Linked DNA regions of Homo sapiens: region 1 is linked to region 2. Evidence: promoter capture Hi-C in human tissues and cell types (Jung and others, 2019). All regions are on one chromosome and are shown on one strand. The core of a region is centred on a gene start or on the middle of the fragment in contact, and the rest is flanking DNA. Distances in the headings are between cores, read along the strand shown.

Evidence for each region. The method cuts DNA at HindIII sites, captures the fragments that hold promoters and counts their contacts. A contact is called where the count stands out against the background at its distance.
Region 1: a contact is called between a fragment that was not itself captured here and the fragment with the promoter of SLIT2 in region 2, in 1 of the 25 tissues and cell types used here (lymphoblastoid cells).

Annotation. Positions count from the first base shown.
Region 1 is chr4:19,457,326-19,463,683 of GRCh38, reverse strand. All of the region lies in intron 1 of LOC105374511 (a long non-coding RNA gene), which reads right to left. Among named protein-coding and RNA genes, the nearest start is that of LINC02438, 3.5 kb to the right of the region's middle. The HindIII fragment of the contact is 7,394 bases long and covers 369-6,358 here.
Region 2 is chr4:20,246,377-20,253,366 of GRCh38, reverse strand. It overlaps SLIT2 (slit guidance ligand 2), which reads right to left and starts at 1,462. Exons shown (of 37, transcript NM_004787.4): 1 at 1-1,462. RefSeq lists an enhancer at 1-346. The HindIII fragment of the contact is 10,378 bases long and covers 1-5,508 here.

The DNA of each region.
Region 1 (6,358 bases), core at 2,816-5,315, 790 kb after region 2:
ATGCCTTATTTTAAATGGTGAAAAACGTGTTTTCAACCCATCTAAAAGCACAAAAAATTATCCAGGATATTAAATACTTTACCGCCTTATTTAGCAATCCACAAAATATTTCTGCTTAATATTATATGTTTGAATCATCACTTATTTAATCTATACTTTAAAATCCCTTTAATGAATGTGTTTGCATAGTGTGTAATGATTACGTACAATATATAAAACAAATTGCAATTTTTTTTGTATTCACTTCTCAGAATGCACAGACTTTGTGAATTACAGGAGTTTTTCTAAGGATTTGACCTTTCTACATTCTTGGATTCACTTACACTAACAGTTTTATATTTTATATAACACTGTAGGGAAGATGATATTGTCACCTTTGTCAACAACTTGACCTCAATACACAACCCAAGACACTATTCTAATCAGGGAATAGCTGAGAAACTAGTGCAAAACCATCTATATCCTCCCATCCAACTCATGCCCAACTCATTCAGTTTTACTGGCCCACACAAGCATACTCCTTAGAGTAGGGTTTGGATTTTAGAATCAGATGTTTAATTTTGTGTAAAATATTTCTTCAAGTCTTTATATTCCAAACTTTAAATTCAAAGAACATGTATCCTTTCAGTTGGAGAGGGAGAGAAAAAAAGAACACATACATATATGTTGTAGACACACATGGATATTTGTGTATATATCCCATGTATGTATGTGTGCACATGTATGTCCATTTATATGTACATTTAAGGATATACGTATATATACACAGATGTTCATGGTTTCTATTTGTAGATTACATAATGAGATAAATAGTAAATAAATATGTGATTGTACATTATCTTTACAAGGTACCACCTTTAATATGCTAGACAAAGTAAGGAGTCAGTGAAAATAATTCCCTTAAAAAGATTACAGTTTAATTAGGAGAGAGAGCATATAAACAGACAAGATATCTGACATAAATATTTAATTATCAAATAAAGAGATAAATACATTATACCAACACACTGGAAATAATATAAATCTTAACAACTAATAAAGTACAGCAATAAATGTATTAACATTGTATTATGGTGTTATAGCAACACCAGGAAGGGATCCTTTGCACAATAATTGAAGATGTTAGTGAAAGTTGCATGATGAAGGCAATGCATGAACAAAAAGGAATGAGGCATATGGAGAAGATAAAGAAATCTCCAACAGAAAGAGAAGTATACAGAAAAGATAGAGACAAGAGAAAGATGAACCACAGAAAATGTAGGTAATTGGTAAATCAGGATTTCTAAAGCATAGACTACGAGGCAGGGAGTGTCAAATGATGCATTGCTTAGGTAGAAAAAGATCTGTTTATAGTGAATCTTATATCTATTTTGACACAATGAGTCATATCTATTTGATCATGCTCTGTTGGTGGCAATAAATCTTTGGAGAGAAGAGGACCAGTTGAAAAGACAGTGTAGTGATTCCTGTGAAGAGTTTCAAGATTCAGAACTAAGGAAATGGAAGTAGGGGCATTGTGTAAGGAGAAAAGTTCAAAAAACATTTAGGAGGAAAGTCACTAGGACTTGACACGTATGTATATGTGTACATGAGGGGAAGGGTTAATGGCTGACAAAAGGCCCCCAGATTTCTAGGAGAATATCGATAATGTAAGAGAAGAAACTAGTTTGAGAGGGGAAGGATGAGTTGATTTCAAAACTATATCTAGTTTCAAATAAGAAATAGATGAGCCCTTCAAGGCAATGTCTTGTGTCCAAAAGTCCAGTTTGGAAATTTAATTATTTAGTAATGAGGGACAAAAATCCTGAGGGGAAACCCTAGTTGTTTCACTCTCTTGGCAGGCTAACTATGGGCAAGTGGTTTAGTTTCTCTCAGCCTTACTAAGATTTTCCCCCATAAAATGAAGTACAATTTGTTGTCCTCTTGTAAAGATAAAATGAGATCATTTCTATAAAAGTGTTATTTAAACTCTATGTTTTCCAAGAGTAAAGCCATGTTATCACCAGATTAAACAAGGCTCTGGCAGCTACATCCCACATTAATATTTGTTGGTCTCGCTAATTTATCAGTGGATGTATATGTAACCTTTAGGATAGGCTAAACTAAGGCAAAAAATGGCTTCAACATCAGATATGTTCCCTTAAACAGAAAAGGCAGATAACCACAAAGTAAAATATCTTTTAAGACCATGGAACTTAATTAGTAAGTCTACTTTGGGAATAGTAGAATATCCTGGTAGACCAATGTGTCTTCTACTGCATGAAAACCTAGGCCTACTATAAAAAAATACTGGAAGAAAACTGGGACTAATATATAAAAATTAAGATTCTGAAACAAAGGAAAGGCAGGAGTACTTATAGCAGATATTCAGAGACAGCAGATGAGTATGGCAGATACTCATAAAAATATTTCCATATGGCAGATACTGACACTATGACTAAGATGTTCCTGGAAAACCTATTTGCTATTATTAAAAAAAGACTTTTGATTGTAAGCTATCCTTTCATTGTTCTCTGACAATGCCCAAAAAGAAAACATCTTAACATTCATGAAAGTAAAGCCCATAAAGCACAAGAAGTTTCAGCATGTCCTTTGGGGAATGAGCAAGAAGCTCATTTCTCTTCTCTTCTCTTTCTCTATCAAGTCACTGATGGAAGAGAAACCTCCATTCCAGGCCATGAATTATGGTAGGAAGAGTGAGAGGACCAGTGGCAACTGTGAATAGAGTAGGGAGCAAGAGCCACATTCTGAAGCTATTCAACAGCAAAAGAGAAAATCGCTAGGCAGTCTAGGTGAAGAGTAACAGTGAAGAGTAGCTGCCAGAGCCTTGTTTAATCTGATGATAACATAGCTTTACTCTTGGAAAAAATAGAGTTTCAAGTGAAGAGAATAAGGTGTAGGAAAAGGCAATAAAGAGGGTTGGGTGTTCCAGTGATATTGTGAGAGATAGGCTGAGGGTAAAATTACAATCCACATGCTCAATTGCACTCCTTTCATTCTCAATAAAGTAGTTCTATTACATATATATTTACAATTGTTCCCAAATTGACACATTCCAAATGAGTAGAAATACCTTCCATTTGTTTTGAAAGCACATGACACAAAAATGACCACATGAGAATTCAGATCTTCTAGTTCTAATGAATGAAGAAAATTCAGAAATATCTCCTGATGAGGCAATTGAACTCTGTTATTACAAACATGAGTGGCTTATGCCTGTAATCCTAGCATTTTGAGGGTCCAAAGTGGGAGGATTGCTTGAGCCCAGGAGTTCAAAATCAACCTGGGCAACACAGTGAGACCTCATCTCTACAAAAAATTTTAAAACATAAGCCAGGCATGGTGGTGCATACATATGTACATTTAAGGACATATAGTATATATACACAGGTTTTCATGGTTTCTATTTGTAGATTACATAATGAGGTAGATAAATAGTAAAAAAAATATGATTGTACATTATCTCTACAAGGAACCACCTTTAATGTGCTAGACAAATGCGCTAGTCCCAGCTACGTGGGAGGTGGAGGCAGGAAGATCCTTTGAGTCTGAGAGTTTGAGGCTCAACTGCAGTGAAATGTGATTGCACCACTGTACTTGAGCCTAGGCAACAGAGCCAGACCTCATCTCAGAAATAAATAAATAAATAAATAAATAAATAAATAGTGAGTGTATTATTCATTTGGTTTCCAACTCTCTTAGGAATTAACATGCTATGGAAGAACAAACATTTGTTCTCTATATAATATCTGCAATATGGGCACAAGTAATGATGTAGGGGTAAAAATATGATTATTTTTTCTCACTACATATTTATCCTACCCGTCCTCTTTACCAGACTTCAAGCCAAATGTCAAATGGGAATGCTACTTGCTAGCAATGGGATCTTTGCATTCAAATGTGTCTAGTTTATCTTGGTTTCCAGACTTGTCCAGTATAGGAAAAGAGATCTTTATTCCCAGATAAAGAGAAATGCCAGTGCAAAGAAAGAGAAAAAACAAGTGGAAAGGAAATGATAATAAATGATACAATGGAAGAACACTATTTTGAATTGAACTTGCAAATTAATATTCAAAAGTGTGAATCATGTTCTATGTAGAAGGAAAATAAAATGAATATGTAATAGTTTTGATAAATTCAAATGCTTTAATAAAATTACTTTTTAATAAAATAAACTTACGGTCCAATAAAGACATATAGTTCCTTCATATTATTAAAGAAAAAAAATCTTAAATTAAGGATCAGAATGATACTTAATGGTAAATCACTAGGATATTAATTAAATACAATAAAAGAATAGAAAGAATACTACAATCACCACTGTAACTGAAGTGAGTTGGCATTGCTATTGCAAAGGCAACAATAGCATCATTGATCAGAATGGAGGAGTTCAAATCATAATTTTCTGCAGTGGATAAAATTTTTGACTAAGAGTAATATCTGTAAAACAATGGCAGAATTCAGAAAATTTTCAATAATATATTTTATTGTTTTAAATTGATAATTTTCTAACATTATGTTGAAAATATCTGATATATAATGAAAATGGGCAAAAATTAAAAACCAAGAAATGTTTTTAATTTTGAGAAATATGAGAAATACAACACTTTAATCAATATAAATATTAGAAAAGTAAATGGAGAGATAATGTTCTTGCACAGGAAGACAATATACTAAAAGTGGCATTTTTTCAAAATAATGTATATATTTAACAAAATTAAAAAACATTTTGTTTTACATTGTTTTTAAATTAAGTTCATATGGACTTACGTATATGGAAAAAAAAATTTTAACTTAAAAAGAGAGAAAAAGGAGAGATCGGCCTGTTACAGAAACAGGGTATAAAGTGACAAAAATTTAAATTATGTTGTAGTAGCAGAGAAATAGGCACTTAATGGGGTATATAAGAAAACACTAATGTGTAAAAACTAAATTATATAATAAAGGTGGTAGTCAAATTAATAAAAGTTAAAAATGTTATTTTATAAATGATATATGGAAATGTGACTGTTTATTTAAAAAATATTAGGTGCCTAAATCATACCATATTTAAAAATTAATTCTGGATTCATTATATTTTTATTTTTTGAAATTTAATAATGTACCAAAACTATGAAAGATTATTTATACAACTTTGATCTTTAGAATCATATCAAATAACTTTGTTTTTAAATTCTGTATAAAATACATTAATATTAGAAAAATTATAAAGCAAGCATATTTATTTGAAACTAAAACATGTGGATATATAAAAAATACTTGCATATATATACATGTATATATGTATAATACATGTACGTATACATGTTATATATATGCATGTATATATGTATTTATACAAAAAAACATGTATCAAGCATATCTATACACCACTGAATTCACCAGTTGCCAGAAGTATGATCATTCACCTTAAGATTAGCAAAGATCAAATTTCACATTGCATGCCTGTATCAAAATATCTCAGGTAACCCATAAATATATACACCTACTATGTACCCACAAATTTTTTTAAGTTTTTTAAAAATTAATAATTTTAAAGGAATATAATGAAAGATGTAAAGGAAAGAGACCCCTAAAGAAAATAAAAATTGGTATTTTTTCTGGATGGCCATTAATGCTAACTAGCAAGAGATTTAAAAGAGATAAGATTTGAAATCTTGATGTGACTTTAAAAAAAAGGAAAATAATTTGACAAATGCATAGTGAAATTACAATAGTAAAAAAAAAATAGAAATAACCAAAAGGGCTGGTATAGTAGATTGGTGCAATGATTGATGGATTATGGGCCAGGTGCAGTGGCTCATGTCTAATCCAGCACTTTGGGAAGCCTAGGCAGGAGGACTGCCTGAGCCCAGGTGTCTGAGACCAGCCTGGGCAACGTAATGAGATTCTGTCTCTACAATAAATAAATAAATGAGAATTATGGATTACGGTTTACCAACACAAATAAATACTCTTGAATCTTGTATAAAATTAATGACCTAGAGGAATATATAAAACTAACAGTAAACAAACCCATTTGGTTCTGTGGCAAATGTATACACAGCCTTAGAAAGACTCCTCTTCTGTAAAGCGTGCAGTAAATAGGTAGGTACTGGTAAGATAATTTAAGAAGTCATGATAGTTTAAAGAGGGAATATAGCAAACAATAATACATATTTTTGAAACATTTTGTTTACATTTTAAAAATTGTATGAATGTTCATTTTGTCAATATTTTTATTGCCAAGGTTTTGTCACTGAATATCATCCCTCCTCAACTGGAGTATCTGTTTTCTTTCTCCCCTAAACAATGTAAAGGTCAGAATGCTAGGAGACAAGTGATTCTGATTAAGAAAGTTGAGCAAAGTTTTAAAAGG
Region 2 (6,990 bases), core at 213-2,712:
AAGACAGAAGAGGGGATCTCAATAGGTATTATGGCCCCGATCAAAGTGGGCTCCGGAAGCTAGAAGGCGCGGAAGCCCAGCGGGCCCGTAGCAGAGCGCGCGGGGCAACTGGGCATGGCGCGCGGGGGTGCACGGGGCGGACGCGCAGTTCTGGGGGCGCACGGCTCTGGACTCTGCTCACTCACGCGGCCTCTCCCTCGCCCTCGACTCCGCCGCAGCCTGGACCGGTCCTCGCGGTCTCCCGACAGCCAACGATGGTTTACAAACACACATGCACTTCGCTGAAGGATGTCTGGGCAATCCCGCCTCCCGCTCGGCGTCCTTGGCGACGCTCTGCACCAGGACCTGCCCCGAGGTCACGCAGAAAAGACAAAAGGGCAGTCGGGCCGCCGCAGCCGGGCAGAAATATCCACTAGTCAGCACTCCGGCGAGGAACTCCAAGAGGCCAAGTGGAGGATGAGAGCTGCTGCGAAGACTGAGTGGGGACTGACTGGGGGCGGACTTAAAAACCAGGCAGACCGGAAGGAGTGGAAAGGCAAAGGCCAAGGTTGGAGGTGTCAGCGTCCTGCTGGGGCGTACTGGAGAATGGCTCGGTGGCAGGTGGGCGGGTGGGATCCACTACTCCAGGCAGAGCCAGGCGGCAGCTGAATGGCAGTAGTGTGTGCGCGCGTGTCAACCCCGCTCGTCTCCCAGATAAGCCGCAGCTCCGCGGCAGACACCTGATGGCAAAGGTAGAAGAAACAAGAGCCGGGTTCCGGAGGGCGCAGAGCCACGGCCGGCCCCCGGCGGTCTCCCACTAGTGGTTCGTCCTTCTCAAAGTGCAGCAACTTTTCCCAGGCTTTGAATTCCGTCCCCCAAGGCCACAGTGGCGGTACCCCTGCCGGCGTGGCGACGCCGCCCGGCTCCTGGCGCTGCACCTGACGCGGCGGCCGCAGTCCCGGGTAGTCCTTCTCCTTCTAGCCCCTTCCCCTCTCCCGCTGCTTTCCTGGCCTCCCGCTCCAGGGAGCGAGGTCGGGGAGAGGGAGGGCGACGACTCAGAGCGGGGACTCGGTGGCTCTGCCGACTCCGGAGCCCCTGGCAAGTGTCTAAACAATAGGACGGACGCAGCAGCCCAAGTCTCGCTTGTCTGGAAGGAAGGTGGGTTGTTGTCGTAACTGGAGTTGTTCGCTGGGGCTGACTGGCGCTCAGCGTAGCCAAACAAAAACCCGGCCCGCGCCTCCGGAGCCGGCTGCGGGCCCCCGGCGCTCCCCTTTCTGCTCAGCACTCCCGCCGTGCCCAGAAAGCGCGGCAGCTTCGGCCTGCGCCTGGGCGCTTCGGCGCTCCCATGCCTCGCAGCTGCCTCCGCCTCCGCCGCCGCCGCCGCCGCCGCCTTCTTTTTTTTAACCACAGTCTGCGGCAGCCACCACCACCGCCGCCGCCAAGCTCCGCCGTCCGGGCGCTTCCCAAATAAATAACACCAAGTCCGAAGTTGAGCCGGCGCGGGCCTTATATAGCCGCCCGAGCCTCCGCCCCCTGACCCCGCCCCTCGAGGCCCAGGCCCGCCCCCTGGCTCCGCTCTGGGAGCCCGCACCTCGCTGGGGAGAGGGGAGAGGTGAGGCCGGGGCTGCCAGCGCTGGGCGGAGGCGGCGGCTGGCGGCGCGCGTTCCCGTGCGCCCTGGCTCGCCCCCTCGCTCCCACGCGCGGGCAAACTTGGCCCGAAGAAGGAGCCACCCGAGCCCCAGCCCCCAACTCCTTGGCCCCAGAGGTGACCTGGGCTCGGAGATAGTCGTTTGCAGTGGGAGAATGGGAAGAGGTCGGCTTTGAACGCGGCTCATAAATAAACAGCCCTGCCAGTGCCTCTCCTGCAGCTTTTGCCACGCGATCCTTAAGGGGGCTGCTCACTCTTTGCAGCGCAGCAAGAGACAGAGAGACAGAAACAGAGAAATTATGATTTAAATTTAAGAAAAATCCTACCGAAATAGATCTGCCTGCGCTTACAGACACACACGTGTATTTTGGGGAGCTGAAAAGTTCAGTTTTTGCAAGTTGGAAAACAGCATTTTCCAACCTTCTTGCTTGCCTTTCTATCTCCAAGCCACCCCCTTCCGTTTAACCCTTCCTTTGTAGACACACACTGAACCACACCGTGGTCAGTTGATGTCTTGGATATTCAATAGGCTCACAAAACTCTTAAGGGCTTGAACGTATCTGTGTGATTTTTTACTCTCTTATGAGAGAAAGGAGGGGAAAAAATAAATCCCTAGCAACGCACATTATACCAGAAGGTTTTCTTTATTTCAGGGCAGTTCTGGATATTTTTTTCCCCGCTATGTTTTGAAAGAGAATTTCCTTGTTTCATCTTGTCTCTTTAGTGTGACGTATGTCTGGCAACGGCTGCCTCTCTCGCCCCCCTTTCCCCCCCAGCAAGAGCCAATGTCACTGTAAGTTTGAAATGACATCTAAATGACTCTGCTCCTTCTCTTGGATTTAATATGCATCATATTGTTGTTCTTCCTCCCATTTCCACGTTAAGAAGCTTTCCCTGGAATTTGTGCAAGCCCCCGCCTAATACCAGCCTCATATTGTAGTAGTTATTTGTATAATTATTAGAAGCTTCCTTGAAAGCAAGACCTGTCCAACTCTTTGTATTTCCAGCATCTATGCCTGCCACATAATAGGTTTCCTCATAAGTAACCGATTTCTTTAACTCAAGAGTATGCTCAACCTAAAATCTCTGCAATATCCTCATTAACGTTTTTCCTGGTTAACATTTTCTAAGATGTCCTTTCATAATGGCTACCCCTACTTACCTCATTTTGCCTGCCTTGGAAAACGTAAGCCTTTTCGAGGACACGCCCAAAGGCAGGGTACCATCTGATAACTGAATTGGAACTCTTAGGATTACTCATTTTAATGCCACAGATTTATATTGCTCTATTCTTTTAAAACCTTCAAAAACATTTGACATTTATTAACTCATTTGTCCTTCTAGATTTTAGCTTAAAGGTCTGTTATGTAACTTCCTTGAGGAGGAGAAAAAAGAAGCCCTTGTCACATTTTCTTGTAAGGAAAATGAGATAAAGAACAAGTACCTGTCATTGAGGAAGGAGCTCCCCCAACCCTCAGTGAATTTTCCTTAGTGTGTACCAGTAAATTATGTGGTTAAATATGGTTGCTGATACATTAATTTATTTAATTTCACAACTTTAATATCTTGTCAGCAACAAGAGGTGTTTGTGTTCAACTTTGTGCACCACATAGAATTGTTGTTCCATATTTTAATTCCAAGAACATATCCTGCATTCCAAATATTTATAAATAATATTATTGATATTGTTGCATAAGTGAAATTCACAGACATAAGTTCAAGTTTCATTCTATCTCTGATCACTTTCTGTTTTGTGTAAAACCAAGGAGAAACTAACATACATAGCAACATGCCTACAGAAACATCTTTTTAAAATTTGAAGCCAATTTAAATAAGAAGCTATGTTCAGTGGATTTCATTCAGAAAAAAGAAAGACTGTAATTAATTCTTGAGAGGCATATCTTACTATTTTTTGCGTTATTAACTTTTTAGTTGATAAGGGGAATTTTATACATACATAAACAACCAGGTCTCCTGTCCTTTAACATATTACTGTATTATTCCATTAGTATTACTGCAGGATGTTTGTTGAAGGCCTTGCAGGCTTCAGAAACATTAACTTCTAGGTCTTAATTCTTTATGGATTATTTTGCTCCCATATGAATTTCTGAGTTTCTCTTTCACTGTTAAACCCAGCCTGAAGAAAGCCTTCTGTGGTGCCTCTTGTCACCACATGAGGTCTCCATAAATCCTGACCTGGATTAAGCAGAAGTGGAATCCACTATAGCCAATATCCGAGTCTCCTATTATCTTGCAAAAAAAAAAAAAAAATCCAGTTCGTACAATAATTTGGAAACAATGTAGACAATCACCTATGCAGCAAAGAAATAAAAAGCATCAGAATAATGTGTAGGTTATTAAATGTCTAATAAACTTTGCATTTTTTTGAAATAAAAAGGTTGTGAAGTTGGGTTATATGGGAAAAGGGAGGAAGAAAAGAGAATTTACGAAAAAGAGATAAAGAAGAGTAAAAATTATTGTTCTCTGTCTTTTTAAACAGAGGTAGGTAACAGTAATTGCATTGATCAAATTCATGAAACTTAATTCCTTGAATTTAACTGCCTTCATGTTACTATTTTCCATTGTTGCAATGTGTTCATTTTAATTATTTGATATTTCTTTCATTTAAATTATCTGATATTTCTCACAATATCTTTGTATTGGAAACGTAGACATGGAACCCTAATATAATGGAAATTAAGATTTAACCAAAATTTGTTTCAAGCCTACTAAATTCCAAGCTATTTGACAGAGTTACATCCACAGTGATGGTTGCTATTTCACTCCTTACAGTAGAGGATGTTGGTCTTCATGCAAGTCGCAGCTTATTAAATGGCAGAGCTAGAACCAGAACCTAAGTTCTCTGACCTCAATTCTCAATTGATTCTTCTTCACCCAACTGTTTATCTGTAGATCCACTGGAACTCGTGGGGATCAAGGAATCTATAGATCCTCAGGAATGATCACCCTCATACAGGAGATGGTCATGTCTCTGCACACACTCCTTAAGGGCATCTACAGGGAGCAGTAAAGAGCTAGAGTCCTCAGCACCAGCACTTCAAGGATACTGAAACCTGACCTGCTTCTGGACATAGCTTTGACTTTGAGATGATTCTCTAGGTGAGTGGTTCTCAGCATGTGGTCCCTGGACCAACAGCATCGTAATCGCCAGGACTGTAGTTGGAGATACAACTTCTCAGGCCCTAACTCAAACCCACAAAATCAGAAAATCTGGGAACAGAAGCCAGAAGGCTGTGTTCTCACAAGCCCTCCAAGAGATTTTGATGTTCACTAAAATTTGAGATCCATTACTCAAGAGCTGCTCTGTGTTTGTATCTGTGACACATTGGTACGGAGAATGAAGCAGCAAAGAATAATAGATAACAGCTGCTGAATTGTCTTCAGCTTCTCATTCCTGGGGGTTGACAATTGCACATTACTGATTACCTCTAGGGGGCACCAAAATATTTTGATGTACAGCTCCGCAGAGGCAATAAGACTTTAGTTTTATTTTCCAAGGAAATGGCCTTCAGAAGTGGAAAGGGCTTCCTAGTTATTACATCAGCAACCTGCCCGAATATGCCTCAACCCTTTAAAAAAATCTGTTATATTTATAGGGATTTTTTCCAGTTTAATACCACTTTTGTATGGATGCATTGATTCCTATTTCTCATGATTATTGTGAAAATTAAGATATTATTTTTCAATCTAACAGCACAGGGCCTGGCATAGAGCTAGGTGCTTATTAAATAAAGGGTATTTCATTATTACTTTTAATATCTGAAATTTTCTAAAATATTATATTTGTATTATGAGAATAGATAACATATTCCTTTAGTTATTACTATGATCCAATAACTTCTTGTATTGAGTCCTGGGAAGGGCTGGGCTGAGGGTGATACTTTACAAGAAGAACAAATCAACTTACAATAATCAAGCCCTGCTCAGACCTACAGTATCCCATGAACAAAAGAGTGGCGATAGATATAATTAGTTTTGTGCTATGTGTGTCACATAATATAAACTAATCTTTGAAGAGGTAAAGTTGGTTTCCCGCTGCCAGAATAACTGCTTGTTGATTATGCAGTGAAATTAAAGGGAGAAGTTCTAAACCTTGATCTGCTGATAAGTGGGAGTGCTTGGGTAGCTTTGGATATGCGGCTTAGCTCTCGCCTTAGTTTCCTCCTTTATACATTGTTGGGATTAGACCAGTTGAACCATAAATCCATCCTTCTGTTATTAGTAATAATATATTTATTAAGCAGTGTCTGTGTTCCAAACACTGGGCTGGTCACCTTATATATCTTAGCTTCTTTAATTTTCACAGCAATCCTCTGACTTGGATACTATTTTTATCCTTGATTTATAGTGAAGAAAATTGAGGTTTACAGGAATTCATTCAGTTCATGCAGCTAGCAAGCAGCAAAGTAGGCACTAGAATTCCAATTCAATCCCAAACTCTGTTTCACAAACATTGTAATACCCTACCTTTCAAATTCTATGATTTGAGTACACCAAGCAAAGACTTGTTCTATATAAAATGAAGACAAAGATGTATTGGGGGAGGAAAGAGTGCAGTGGTTTAAAGTGACATTTGAATATTAAATGTGTGAGATACTCCAGCAAGAACAAAAGAGAATATGCTGATAATAGAAAAATGATAGTGGGAAAAGTAAAGCAAAAGATAGTTAATACTCGATGCAGGTTAAAAATACATTAATATCAAAACACACAAACAAAAATACACGGTAAAAATTTTAATAGTTTTATGAGTTTCAAATTTTTAAATTGTCGATTTCCTTTAACCATTGAGGAGAAGGAAATACAGTTGTAAATGATTTTGAATGTCCTAATCTTTTGACTCTACGAAGTCTAATAATGTGCATCCTGGATTTTCACAGAAGAAAAGAAAAATCTTTCTGGGTTACTTGGAAGGAAAGGAAAGGAACCTCTCACACCTCCTGCAGGCTTCTTCTGCTAGATTGCAAAAGGTTGACCTTCGTCCTATAAGGTCATAGTATCAAGCTAAAATTACACAGAAAGGTACTCTAGTCTAATAGAAACTCAAAATAAATATTTTCAAATCCCAAAGCTAAATATTATATATTGTAGATAAAAATCAACTCTGATTAACAGAGGCAGTTCATAACCACTATTGGAAAAATATAGTTCAAAGTAAATGCCTCCCTGATGGCCAAAAAGCCATTTTCTCATACAAAGAGTCTCATTAGTATCTTAGTACAAGAAGTGGAAAACTTCTTCTGTCAAGAACCAGCTAGTAAGTAAGCACTTTAGGCTTCATAGGCCAATAGTCAAAAAAATCAAGACCATTATGTACATGCATAATCTATTAAAGAGAGAAA